2 separate regions of the Homo sapiens genome follow, and region 1 is linked to region 2. The links are contacts of gene promoters, found by promoter capture Hi-C in human tissues and cell types (Jung and others, 2019). All regions are on one chromosome and are shown on one strand. Each heading gives the region's core, a stretch centred on a gene start or on the middle of the fragment in contact. The rest is flanking DNA. Distances are from core to core; before and after follow the strand shown.

The links. Contacts are between HindIII fragments. The study calls those that stand out against the background at their distance.
Region 1: a fragment that was not itself captured here is called in contact with the fragment with the promoter of CCDC63 in region 2 in 1 of the 25 tissues and cell types used here (heart right ventricle).

Annotation. Positions count from the first base shown.
Region 1 is chr12:110,793,388-110,799,736 of GRCh38, forward strand. No RefSeq gene overlaps it. Among named protein-coding and RNA genes, the nearest start is that of CCDC63, 50 kb to the right of the region's middle. The HindIII fragment of the contact is 5,679 bases long and covers 1,860-6,349 here.
Region 2 is chr12:110,843,986-110,850,451 of GRCh38, forward strand. It overlaps CCDC63 (coiled-coil domain containing 63), which reads left to right and starts at 3,002. Exons shown (of 12, transcript NM_152591.3): 1 at 3,002-3,120. The HindIII fragment of the contact is 19,678 bases long and covers 1-6,466 here.

The DNA of each region.
Region 1 (6,349 bases), core at 3,449-5,948, 49 kb before region 2:
CTGCCTCCCGGGTTCAAGCAATTCTCCTGCCTCAGTCACTTGAGTAGCTGAGAGTATAGGTGTGCCACCACCCCTGGCTAATTTTCGTATTTTTAGTAGAGATGGGGTCTCACCCTGTTGGTCAGGCTGGTCTCGAATGCCTGACCTCAAATGATCTGCCGACCTCTATCTCTGAAAGTGCTGGGATTATAGGCATGAGCCACTGCACCCAGCCTAGATTTTTTTTTCTATTTATAGACCAGTAATCATGTACATATCCAAATATATCCTAATATGTACAATATCCATCTGTATACTAACCTACACATGAGCAAATACATGCATATGCTAATATCCAATACAATTTTGTGTACTGAATGTAATTATCTCTCAAAAACGAGATCATCCTTTATGTAATATTCTACACTTTTCCATATCAATACATATCAAGAGATAAAGTATGATCCTGTTCATTCACACATGTATTAATTTACCAATCCAATCAACAAATACTTTTTTTGAAATTATCCAATATACTCAGCTATGTGTCACTGAAAGGATTTAAACAGTGGAGCAACATAAAGAGGAGAAATATAATCAACTTTCTTTTTTATTTATTTGTTTATTTTATTTATGTATTTTTTTGAGACAGAGTCTCACTCTGTCACTCAGGCTGGAGTGCAGTGGCAGGATCTTGGCTCACTGCAACCTCTGTCTCCTGGGTTCAAGTGATTGTCGTGCCTCAGCCTCCCAAGTAGCTGGGACTACAGGTGCCCGCCACCACTTCCAGCTAACTTTTGTATTTTTAGTAGAGATGAGGTTTCACCATGTTGGCCAGGCTGGTCTCGAACTCCTGACCTCAGGTGATTTGCCCCCCTTGGCCTCCCACAGTGCTGGGATTACAGGTGTGAACCACCACACTCAGCCAGGACTCTTTATTTTTCTATTAAAAAAATATTTATTAGGCCAGGCGTGGTGGCTCATGCCTGTAATCTAGCACTGTGGGAGGCCGAGGCAGGCAGATCACCTGTGGGCAACATAGCAGGATCCTGTCTCTACAAAAAATATAAAAATTAGCCAGGTGTGGTGGCGTGCACCATAGTCCCAGCTACTCGGGAGGCTGAGGTGTGAAGATCACCTGAGCCGGGGAGGTTGAGGCTGCAGTGAGCCATGATTATGCCACTGCACTCCAGCTTGAGTGACAGAGTGAGACCCTGTCGTAGGGAAAACAAACAAACAAACAAAAAAACCCAAATTAAAAAAAAATTCATCTTTCTTACTTCACAACATCTCTTAGAGACCAGTCCCATCAGTATATAAGGAGCATCTCATTCTTTTTTGCCACTGCACAATATTCCATGGAATTGATGGACATTTTCCGTTTCAAACCCAACCCAGCAGCCCGGGGTTGTGTAGTCCCTGCCAGACTTGTCTCTGCTCTTGGCCAGAGAACACATAGGTGGGCTGGGTGGGAGGCAGGGCTCTGAGGGTTGGCCAAGTTCCCCGGCCTGTCTGGGGATTCTTGGAGCTAGAGTTGAGGGACACATCTTCCTGCCTTCCCAATTCTTTGCCCCCGGGAGGCATCCTGTGGCCCCATCCTGTTCCCATTCTGTTATTTCAAGAAGCTGCCCTGGCTTATTTCTGGTCCTTTTCTCCCTTGTCTCTGTGGCCAACTGGGTCACCAGCTGGCCTCAGGGGCCTCCACCCACCCCACATCCGTTCTCGACCTCTCACCCACGCAGGCGTCCAGCTGTTCCACAGCTGTGTCAGAGCCCCCAGGCCTGTGTCCACATTCTCTGGGGCAGTTGCCAGGCAGTCAGGGTCACCCTTGGTCATGGGATAAAAGGACTCACTTAATGAGTACCTACTATGTGTGAGGTTGTCTGGTAGCCTTTTGCAGGTTTATGTTTAATTCTCGTAACAATCCTGCCAAATAGATATTCTTATTCCCATGTTATGGATAGGGAAACAGGCTCAGAGTCAGAGATGGGGAATGATGGGGGAGCCTGAATTTGAACCCACCCATTTTATGGATGGGGAAACAGGCTCAGAGAGCAGATGTCAGAGATGGGGAATGATGGGGGAGCCTGAATTTGAACCCACTGGTGCCAGAAGTCTTGGTTACCCTTGTACCCTTGGGGTTCCTGAGTCATTAAGCAGTAAGCCTCAGTAAATATATGCTGAATGAATGAATGAAAGAATGAGTTTGAGAGATATTTCCTGGGCAAGTCCTATATGTCAGGCACTGGTCTAGGGGCTAGAGATAGAGCAGTGACCAAACAGCTTTCTTGGCACTGAAATTCTAATGGGGAAGACAATCTAAATAAGTAAGCAAGCAAGCAAAAATAAGATGATGAGGCGGGGCGCAGTGGCTCACTCCTGTAATCCCAGACCTTTGGGAGGCCCAGGCAGGCGGATCACCTGGGGTCAGGAGTTGGAGAGCAGCCTGGCCAACATGTGAAACCTCATCTCTACTAAAAATACAAAAAATAGCTTGACGTGATTGTGCACGTCTGTAATCCCAGCTACTCGGGAGGCTGAGGCACGAGAATTGCTTGAACCCTGGAGGTGGAGGTTGCCATGAGCTGAGGTCACACCACGGCACTCCAGCCTGGGTGACAGAGAAAGACTGTCTAAAAAAAAATAAAAAAAAGATAGTAAGATAGTGACAGGCTCTACGGGAGAATTCTAATAAGATGGTGTAGTAGGCAGTAGCTGGGTGGGAGTGAGAGTGGGTGTGCCTCATTTATATAGGAATGGGGTCTCTAAAGAGGCGACTTTTGGACTGAGATCTAAATGGCAAGGTCAAGCCAGCTACACAAATAGGTAGGAGAGGGGAGAGGATTTCAGGTGAAAGGAACAGCACATGCAAAGGCCCTGAGGTCAGATGAAGCCTGGTGTGTATGGGGAACAGGGAGGATGCATGTGGCTAGCATAGAATACAGGAAAGGCTGAAAGTTCAAGATATAGGCCACAGCCAGATGAAACAAGTGTGTGGCAGCTGCATAAAAACTTGGAGAGGCTGTTGAGTGCAGTGGCTCACACCTGTAATCCCAGCACTTTGGGAGGCTGGGGTGGGAGGATGGCTTGGACCCAGGAGGTTGAGGCTACAATGAGCTGTGATTGCGCCACTGCACTCCAGCCTGGGTGACAGAGTGAGACCCTTTCTCTAAAAAAACAAAAAAAAAAAAACAAAAAAAAAGCCATAAAATACAAAATAAAATAAATTTTTAAATAAAAACGTGGAGCGCTTAAGCAGGAGAATCATGCTTTCTCAGGGTGCTGTGTGGAGAGTAGGCTGTGGTGTGGCAAGAGAGGGAGTAGGGAGCAGGTTGAGGAAGTTCCTGAAGTCACCCTGGTCTGAGAAGGCAGTGAGCTGGACCAAGGTGGGAGCCGTGGAGACAAAATAAAGATTGGGGAAATGTTTGGAAGGAGAGCCAATAAAATGACGATGAGTTATAGTTGGGGGATTCAAGAGAAGAATCAAGGTTAAATCCTTGGTTTCTGGCTCAAGCAACTGGGCAGATGTGATGGGGCCATTTATCGAGATGGGGAATATGAAGGAGTAGGTTTCAGTGAGGGTGGTTGGAGAGCGAGGAGGATGAAATGGAGACTCTCTATTCTGGACGTGGCAGGTTTGCTATGGCCATTGTACCTTCCGGCTGACATGTCAGTTAGCAGGTGGATAATGGTCAGGGACTTAAGGTGAAGGCAGGGGAGGAGACTGATGAGTCATCCTATGAGTGATCCTTAAAGTCTCAAGACTGAGGAGATTGGGCAGGGAGTGAGTGAAGACAGTCCCCTTCCGGAGACAGGAGAGTGATGAAGATGGTTGTCACTCAGGGTGGAGGGCTGGCTTCCAGAATGGTGACTCGGTCGTCCGGGCGAAGAGGCTTAGGCCTGTAATCCTAGCAGTTCAGGAGGCTGAGGCAGGCAGATTACCTGAGGTCAGGACTTTGAGACCAGCCTGGCCAACATGGTGAAACCCCATCTCTACTAAAAATACAAAAATTATCCGGGTGTGGTGGCGCATGCCTGTAATTCCAGCTACTTGGGAGGCTGAGGTGGGAGAATCGCTTGAACCTGGGAGGCAGAGGTTGCAGTGAGCTGAAATCGCACCACTGTACTCCAGCCCAGACGACAGAGCGAGACTCGGTCTCAAAAAAAAAAAAAAAAAAAGAATGGTAACTTGGGACATCCAACAGCTCAGGCTTCTACCCATACCCAGTGGGGCCTGGAGGGGCCCTGACTGGGGTCGCTGTGATATTCTGGAAGCTGGATCTTAGCCACTGTCCTCAGGGTCTTTGACCTTTTATTTCAATGCCCTCATTCTGAAGGGCCTGAGCTGGTCATGATCTGGACTTGCTATTTCCCTAACATCTTCCTCCTAGAACTTCAGAAGCCTGGCTGGGGTGCTCAGGAAGCTGCTGTTCTCCCCTAAGGGGCAGGAAACTGGGACAGCAGGTACCTCATTCAAGGTCACAAGGGTTAGGGCAGGGCTGCCTACAGAACTGAGGAGGCCAATCCCTCTTCCATCCATGCCCACATTGGTTTGACTTATCACCAGGCTTTTGTTGTGCCAAGTGGAGTATGAAAACAAAAAACTCCTCGGAATAATGAAGATGTTTAGCAAGGGAGGAGGGAGAGAAGACATCCTGGATAATACAGCTTAAGGAGAGAAGAGAAGTTTAATACAGAAATCTGAAGCCAGGTACTGTGCATGTACCTGTGGTTTCAGCTACTTGAGAGGCTGAGGTGGGAGGATCACTTGAGCCCAGGAGATTGAGGCTGCAGTGAGCTATGATCACACCATTGCACTCCAGCCTGGGTGACATGAGCAAGACCCTGTCTCTAACAAAAAAGAAAAGTTTGACAACATTTAGTTCATAATATGTGATGTAATTCCATATTAGTCCGTTTTCACACTGCTATAAAGATACTACCTGAGACTGGGTAATTTATAAACAAAAGAGGTTTAATTGACTTACAGTTCTGCATGGCTGGGGAGGCCTCAGGAAACTTACAATGAGGGTGGAAGGAGAGAGAGCACAGGGGAAATGCCAGACACTTATCAAACAACCAGATCTGTGAGAACTCCCTCTCTATCACGAGAACAGCATGGAGAAAACCACCCCTATGATCCAATCACCTCCCATCAGGTCCCTCACTCAACACGTGGGGATTACAATTGGAGATGAGATTTGGAAGGGGACACAGAGCCAAACCATATCAAATATCATCCTTGGTCTCCACTAGGAAACTTAAGCAAAAGTACTGTATGTCAATGCTTTAGGGGTCAGGTTTGTGGTTTGGGGGTGGAACAATGTGCTGAAACCAGTCCTTGGAAGATTCTGGAGTCTCAACTACATATGGGTTATGTCGGGAATAGTTGAGGAATGCCATGGGATGCTTTCTGCTCCAGATTGGAACTCCTGGAGATTGGGAAACACATGAGTCACTTCTGGGCCCCCACTAACCAGCACTGTGCATGAACAGAGTAGGGGGTTCAGGAATTGTTTGTGGAATGAATGAACGAATGAGGAGAGGAGTAGGTCCCAGGCATGAGCCACTGCACCCAGCCTTTTCTTTGTTTTTTTCTGAGGTAGAGTCTGGCTTTGTCACCCAGGCTGAAGTGCAGTGGCACTGTCTCCACTCACTGCAACCTCCACCTCCCGGGTCCAAGTGATTCTCATGCCTCAGCCACCCAAGTAGCTAGGACTACAGGTGTGTGCCACCACACCTGGCTAATTTTGGTATTTTTAGTAGAGATGGGGTTTTGCCATATTGGCCAGGCTGGTCTCAAACTCCTGTCCTCAGGTGATTCGCCTACCTTGGCTTTCCAAAGTGCTGGGATTACACGTGTGAGCTGTTGTGCCCAGCCCAAATTCTTCTTAGCTTTGACTCTCTCTGACCTCTTTTAAGGGCTTACTGGATTAGGTCAGGCCACTTGAGGCATTTTCCCTTTTGATTAACTCAGATTCAATTGATTAGGGACCTTAATTACATCTGCAAAATCTCTTCTGCTTTATAATGTAACATAATCGTAAGAGTGATAACCCACTATCTTCATAAGTCTTTTTTTTTTTTTTTTTTTGAGGCAGAGTCTTGCTCTGTCACCCAGGCTGGAGTGCAATGGCGCTATCTTGGCTCACTGCAAGCTCCGCCTTCTGGGTTCACGCCATTCTCCTGCCTCAGCCTCCTGAGTAGCTGGGACTACAGGCACCCGCCACTGTGCCTGGCTAATTTTTTTTTGTATTTTTAGTAGAGATGGGGTTTCACCAAGTTAGCCAGGATGGTCTCGATCTCCTGACCTCGTGATCCACCCGCCTCGGCCTCCCAAAGTGCTGGGATTACAGGCGTGAGCCACCAC
Region 2 (6,466 bases), core at 1,752-4,251:
ATTGATTTTTTTTTTTTAAACTGAGTTCTAAAATGGGAACTTATAAGAAGCAAGATGGGAGGAAGAGGGGACAGCAGAGAAAATAGTCCTTAAAAAAAGAGGCCAAGTTGAGAGACCAGGTGGTTCCAGAGAGGGCTAGAGGGAGGAGCTGCCTTGGTTTCTGACAGCTTACTAGTTCTGGGTTCTTGTTCCTCATGGGATCTGCCTCCAACCTTTGTGAGATAGCCCTAACATTCATACGATGCAGCATGCTTTAGATGAAAGAAACAGAAACTGCAATCCACACTGGCTTAAAAAACAAGAAACGTATTCATTCACATAATAGGAAATGCAGAGTTCCTATTGTTCATAATGTGGGTTTCAGGCAAGGTATGATCAGGGTGCCAGCCACATTGTTCTGTAATTCTCCCTAGGCTCCTCCCTCCATCGTGTGTTAGCCTTGATCTCACACTGGCTTCCCTCATAGTTGCCAGAGGGCTGTCAGCAACATGAGGGGCAACATGCTTTCTTGTTTGCATCCATAAGGGTAGAAAAGCATCTCCCTCTACCCCAAGTTCTTCCTTTCTGTCTGATAGGCCACTGTCAGTTGCACGCCTATTCCTGGACCAGTAGAAGTTTCTGGGAGAATGCTATGCACTAATTGGCTTAAACTTAGATTCCCAGTCATTGGCAAGGAGGTGATGGGATGGCTGTGATTTGCTAACACTAATGGAGATCTACCTTGGAGGTGTGTGTAAAACTCAACTGCTCCTGGTTACATAGGCTCAATGGGGAAGGACTGTTACCTGAACAAATTGGGATTGGCTGGGAAGAAGGAAAGGGAAACAGATGAGGAGGCCAAAGAAAAAAATTCATTTTGAGATAGTTCGAGTGGGTTTCTGATTTTTGTAACCAAAGAGTCACTTGGACTGTCAGTTTTCTGGTCTGCGTCCAAATGCCTCTGCCTGGTCCCTCTGCGGCTTGGCTCTAATTTCCTCCTGTGTTCTGGAGGCTCTGCTGTCGCCAACATTTCCCACCGCTGGCTCATCGCTTTGGCAAGCTGGCATCTCACCCTGCTCCAAGTCCCGCTGATAAAGCAGAAGGTCCCTTTAGCAGAATCGATTCTGACATGTTCTAATTAAAAAAGCCTGATACGTCTCTGCATGGCGGCTGCTGAGAGCTGCGCCCATAAAGACAAAGAGAGTAAATTCGTCGGAGGAAGGTCTATTTTTAACAAGTCCTGAACCTAATTGAACTTAATCATTTTTCAGTCGTTGACACTTGAAATGTGTGAGTCATTGGGCTCTGCATGGAGCTGAGTGCTGGAGCAGCCCTTTAAATATCAGAGATGGGAGATATCAGCTTGCAGGGCTGCTCAGATTTGGGGCTGTGGTTTCAGTCAGGGTGTGGAAAAGCGTGGGGCTCCAGAGACAGGGAGCCTTGGGTTCAAATCCTGGCTGCTCCACTGACTGCAAAACTCGGTTTCTCTAAGTCTGTTTCCCCATCTGTAAAATGAGGATGGTCAAGTGTATCCAAAACACTTCATATGAATCATTTGGAGGCAAGGCCTGACATGTAGCTGTTCATAATCTATCCTTATCTTACTTGACATGAATATTGATGTTTCCTTGCAGAAACAGTAATTCGTTTGATCTGGACTGTGTGGCCCGAACCCTGTATGTAATATACTGTCCCACTGACTTCCCTCATGGTTACAACGTGGCTGCCAGCAACATTAGGGGCAACATACTCCCTTGCGTACCATATTATCTTTCTGAAACCAAAAACATGGTAAGTTCTTTTTTTTTTTTTTGAAACGGAGTCTCACTCTGTCACCCAGGCTGGAGTGAGTGTGATCTTGGCTCACGGCAACCTTTGCCTCCTGGGTTCAAGCAATTCTCCTGCCCTAGCCTCCCGAGTAGCAGAGACTACAGGCACCCACCGGGTGTGTGCCACCATGCCGGGCTAAATTTGTTATATTTTTAGTAGAAATACAAAAAAAAAAAAAAAAAAAAAAGAAATACACAGGGTTTCACCATGTTGGCCAGGCTGGTCTTGAGCTCCTGACCTTAAATGATCTACCTGCCTCAGCCTCCCAAAGTGCTAGGATTATAGGCATGAGCCAGCGCACCTGGCCTCCAAAATATGGTAAGTTCTAAAACACACATCCTGTCCCAAGAATTTACGGATGAAGTGGAGACCTTAGCAGGGCTGAGCTACTACAATCCACTCAGGGGGCTAGGAGTTAAAGTGGAAATCACATGGAATCAAAATTACTGTAGAAAACAGGTACCCCCAATAATTTTCCATTAATTCTGTGATTGTTTCTAGAGCTTAGCCCCAGAGAAAGTAGTTGACTTGTGTTTCAGGGCCGATTGTATGAAAAATGTGTATCTTTAAACCACTAAACTCCGTTAGGGCAGTGAAAAGCTCACTTGCCTGGATCACACTTGGGTTCCCGTGTTATGCTCACAGTGGGTGGGGGTCAGGTGGATGTTCTGAAGAAAATTCTCCTGCACTGATGAAGTTATTTTTCTCATGAAATATCTCTTTCCCCCCCCGCCCCAACATTTTTTTTTAATTTATTTTTACTTTATTTTATTTTTCAGAGTAGAAAAAACTGGGCTCCTTTGAGTTAGCTGCGTGTGAAGTCTGTACCTAGCAGGGCTGCTGTGAGCATGAGTGTAGGTGTAGGCTAAGAAGACGGTGAATGGGGTGTGAGTGGGGCGAGGTGGACCAGCGATTGCATGGCGTTGGCCGAGGGAGGGGCTAAGACTGTTGATTGACTCAAGAAGTCACTTAGCGTCATGAGGGTCCGGGTAGTCTGGTAAGGGGTCGCTGGAGAGTGTGTCGCCCCTCTCCCCCAACCAAAAGCTTCCCTCCAACCAGCTGCTCTTGTCCTCTCCTCCCGAGGGCCCTGTGCCCTCCCAGCGGACTTGCAGGGGAGAACGTCCATGTTTGTGCGAGTCACAAAGGCGCCCGTTCCAGGGGTCCCAGAACGCCCGGGCGTGGGGCTGGGGGTGTGGCGCAGCGAGGCCGCGCAGCAAGCAGTCCTCCCGGCACCGTCGGAAGCGCAGTTGCAGCAGCCGTCGGACAAGCGGCCGGAGCAGCCACGGACAAGCAGTCCGGGCCCCGCCACTGGTAAGTTTCGCCGCCCGCCCGGCCGCGCCTGCTGCGCCACAGCTCCCCCTGCCAGGGAAAAGGAAAGAGCGGTCGCGGTCCCCAGTCCATTCATATCTCGCTGCCCTAAGCGTTGAAAGTATCAGGGTCTCCCGCAATCATGCATAAATAAATTGTAGTGTGTAAAATAACTCCAGAGCCGCGCGAGGTGGCTCATGCCTGTAATTCTAGCACTTTGGGAGGCTGAGGCAAGAGGATCGCTTGAGCCCAGGGGTTCGAGACCAGCTCGGGCAAATTCGTCTTTACAAAATATTTAAAAACTTAGCCGGGCGTGGTGGTGCCACCTGTAGTCCCAGCTTCTTGGGAGGCTGAAGGGGGAGGATCGCTTAAGCCCGGGAAGGTTGAGGCTGCAGTGAGCCGAGATTGAACCACTGCACGCTAGCCTGGGTGACAGAGAGAGAGAGAGACGCTCTCAAAAAAGGAAAAAAAAAAAGTTCAACAAATTTTTATTTTCCTCCCATAATAATCCTTAAAAAACAAAAAACAAAACAAACAAACAAAAAACAAGAAAAACAACAACAACAACAAAAAACTGTGTATGTGTTTCTGTGCTCCTGTTTGGCTAGTGCCCTAAGCACATGTTTAATTCCAGGTTGTGCAGCCCTGGCTCAATATGATCCACATAGCTGCCTGTCCCAAGGTCCCTAGGGAATCCTTCGGGGGCAGGCTTGTCTTTTAAAGGCAGGTTGTTAAAATTCAGAAGCAGATGAGGTGCAGGCCTAATTAGATATTAGATAAATGAAGATGATCTCTGCCTGGAGGAAACTTCATTCATTCAAACTGTATTTGCCAAGAGCTGCCCATGCGCCCAGGACTATGGATGCTGTGGTGAATAGACTGAGGCCCAAGGGGCAGGAGGCCCTTGCCTGACGTCCCCTGACCTGGGCTGCTGGGCTTCTCTGCACTTTTCCTCGCACACGCTGTTCCCCAGAAGTGGGCAGCTTTTAGATTCCTAACAGGAACTGCAAATTCAAATTCCTACTGGCTCTAGGCAGTTACAGAAAATGTGAGAATTGTGGGGAGGGGAGCTTAGCCAATAGGGAGGAGTGGGGCCTGTGGCCAGGAGAGTGAGTGCATGACCCACATTTATGTTTTGAAACACTGTGGAACAGAACTGGAGGTAGGTTGAATTGGCCCCATGGACTATGAGTTTCAGACCCTTGAATGAGAGGGTGGTAAGCCAGGGGTCAGGACATCCAGGAGATGCTCTGCAGGCCAAGCTATGAGGATGGGGGTGAGGGGGTGGATCTGTTCCCCAGGGAATGTAGGAGCCCATCCCAGAGGGCACTGATCGAAAGGGAAAGGCCTGGGTTAACATCTGGAACCTGAAGAGAAGCCAGCACCCTAGGGGAGAGTGACTATGTATGCGCATATGGATCAGCAAAAAGGCAGGAGGTGATGGAGCTTTTGGTTCCTGGAGAATGGTGCATAACCCAGCCAATGATCTCATGGGCCAGACAGACTGGTACTTGAAAATCCCACTTCACAAACAGGCTACGTTCGCCCAGCGTCTGTCATGAGCTAGGCACTATGCTAACCACTTTACAGACATTATTTTGCGCTGAGATATGGGTGTGGGTATCCCCATTCTACAGATGAGGAAACTGAAGCTCAGAGAGGTCAAATCACACTGTCAGTGAAGGTCAGATATACCCAGTTCATGTTATTAAGATGGTGCATTACAAATCCACTTAGGACCCAAAGGGCCCTGGAACATAGAACAGCTCCTGGACAATATGAAATTGGAGCTGCCCCAAATTCCAGGGCTGAAAGAGGTCCCAGAGAGAGCATCCTGTGCCCAAACCTTGTTAGTCAGGTAAATCCTCCTACAGCTTCTACTCCTACCTGGAGGACCCTTCCAGAAATGATCAAGATACAGAACCATTGTCTTATACCACTTCCCTGCCTGTGGGAATTTCCCAACATCAGACAATTCAGTTGGCCCCCAAACCCTCAAAAACATCAGGGAAAATCCAGAGGTTCCTACATTACCAGCCACTATTTTCCTATCACCCATTAACCTGAGAACCATTTTCAAGGTATGGACCATGTCAGTTAGGAATGCTTTAGGCTTCAATGAACAAAATATTTGGTGACTGCCTTAAACAACAGTGACTCTTGCTATTTCACCTAACATGATGTCTAGAGGTAGGCAGTTCCAGGGATGGGGCAGTAGCCAACAGTGTCAGTTAGAACCTAAATTTTTTCCTGTCTTTCCTCTTTGCTGTCTTTAGGTGTGACGGTGATATTTCTCTTCATGGTCATGGGAGGGTTGCCACTGAACCATCATGCATGCCTTCACAATAATTTCTAAAAGCAGAAGGAGAGAGGAACACGAACAAGCTCTTATTTCCTTTTTTTTTTTTTTTTTTGAGATGGAGTCTTACTCTGTTGCCCAGGCTAGAGTGCAGTGGTGCGATCTCAGCTCACTGCAACCTCCATCTCCCAGGCTCGAGTGATTCTCCTGCCTCAGCCTCTTGAGTAGCTGGGATTACAGGTGCCCACCACCATGCCCAGCTAATTTTTGTATTTTTAGTAGAGACGGGGTTTCACAATGTTGGCCAGGCTGGTCTCAGTCTCCTGACCCCAAGTGATCTGCCTGCCTTGGCCTCTCAAAGTGCTGGGATTACAGGCATGAGCCACTGCGCCCGGCCCAAGTTCTCACTTTTTGTCCCAAAGGAATGGAATATACTTCTCCTTATGTCTCATTGGCCATATCTGGGTCACATGTCTATCATTAGACCAATCATTGACAAAGGGAAGTGGGGTTACCATGATTAGCAGGAAACAATCATGAGTCATCCTCTGGGACTGGGCACATTGAAGGGGTACAAAATCAGATTTGTGTTAGGCAGAAAGAAGTTAGGGTATTCTCTGAGGCATGCTAGCTGCTATAACAAATACATCCCCACATTTCACTGGCTTAACACAACAGAAGTTAATTTCGCATTTGTGTAACAGCCCAATGAGGATGTTCATGGTTGGCAGATGACTTCTTCTACAAGTAGATCTGGGGACCTGTCTTGTGGCTCTGCCTCCTGTAAATGTCAGATGAGGCAAGAAAGGATGGAAAGGTCACATCCACTTCTTAAAAGTCATGATCTGGAAGTGACAGACTTCCCCTCTGCTCACATCCCATTGGTGAGAATTCATCAGAGAGCCCTGCCTGGATCTGAGAGGAGCAGGGAGGCGAAGCCCTGGTTGGGCAGCTAACTCACACAACAATGCCACATGGAGGGAAGCGACTGTTGGGGAGGCAATGAACTGATCTCTTCCAGGCTGATCTATCTCATCCTTGCTTTTAAGA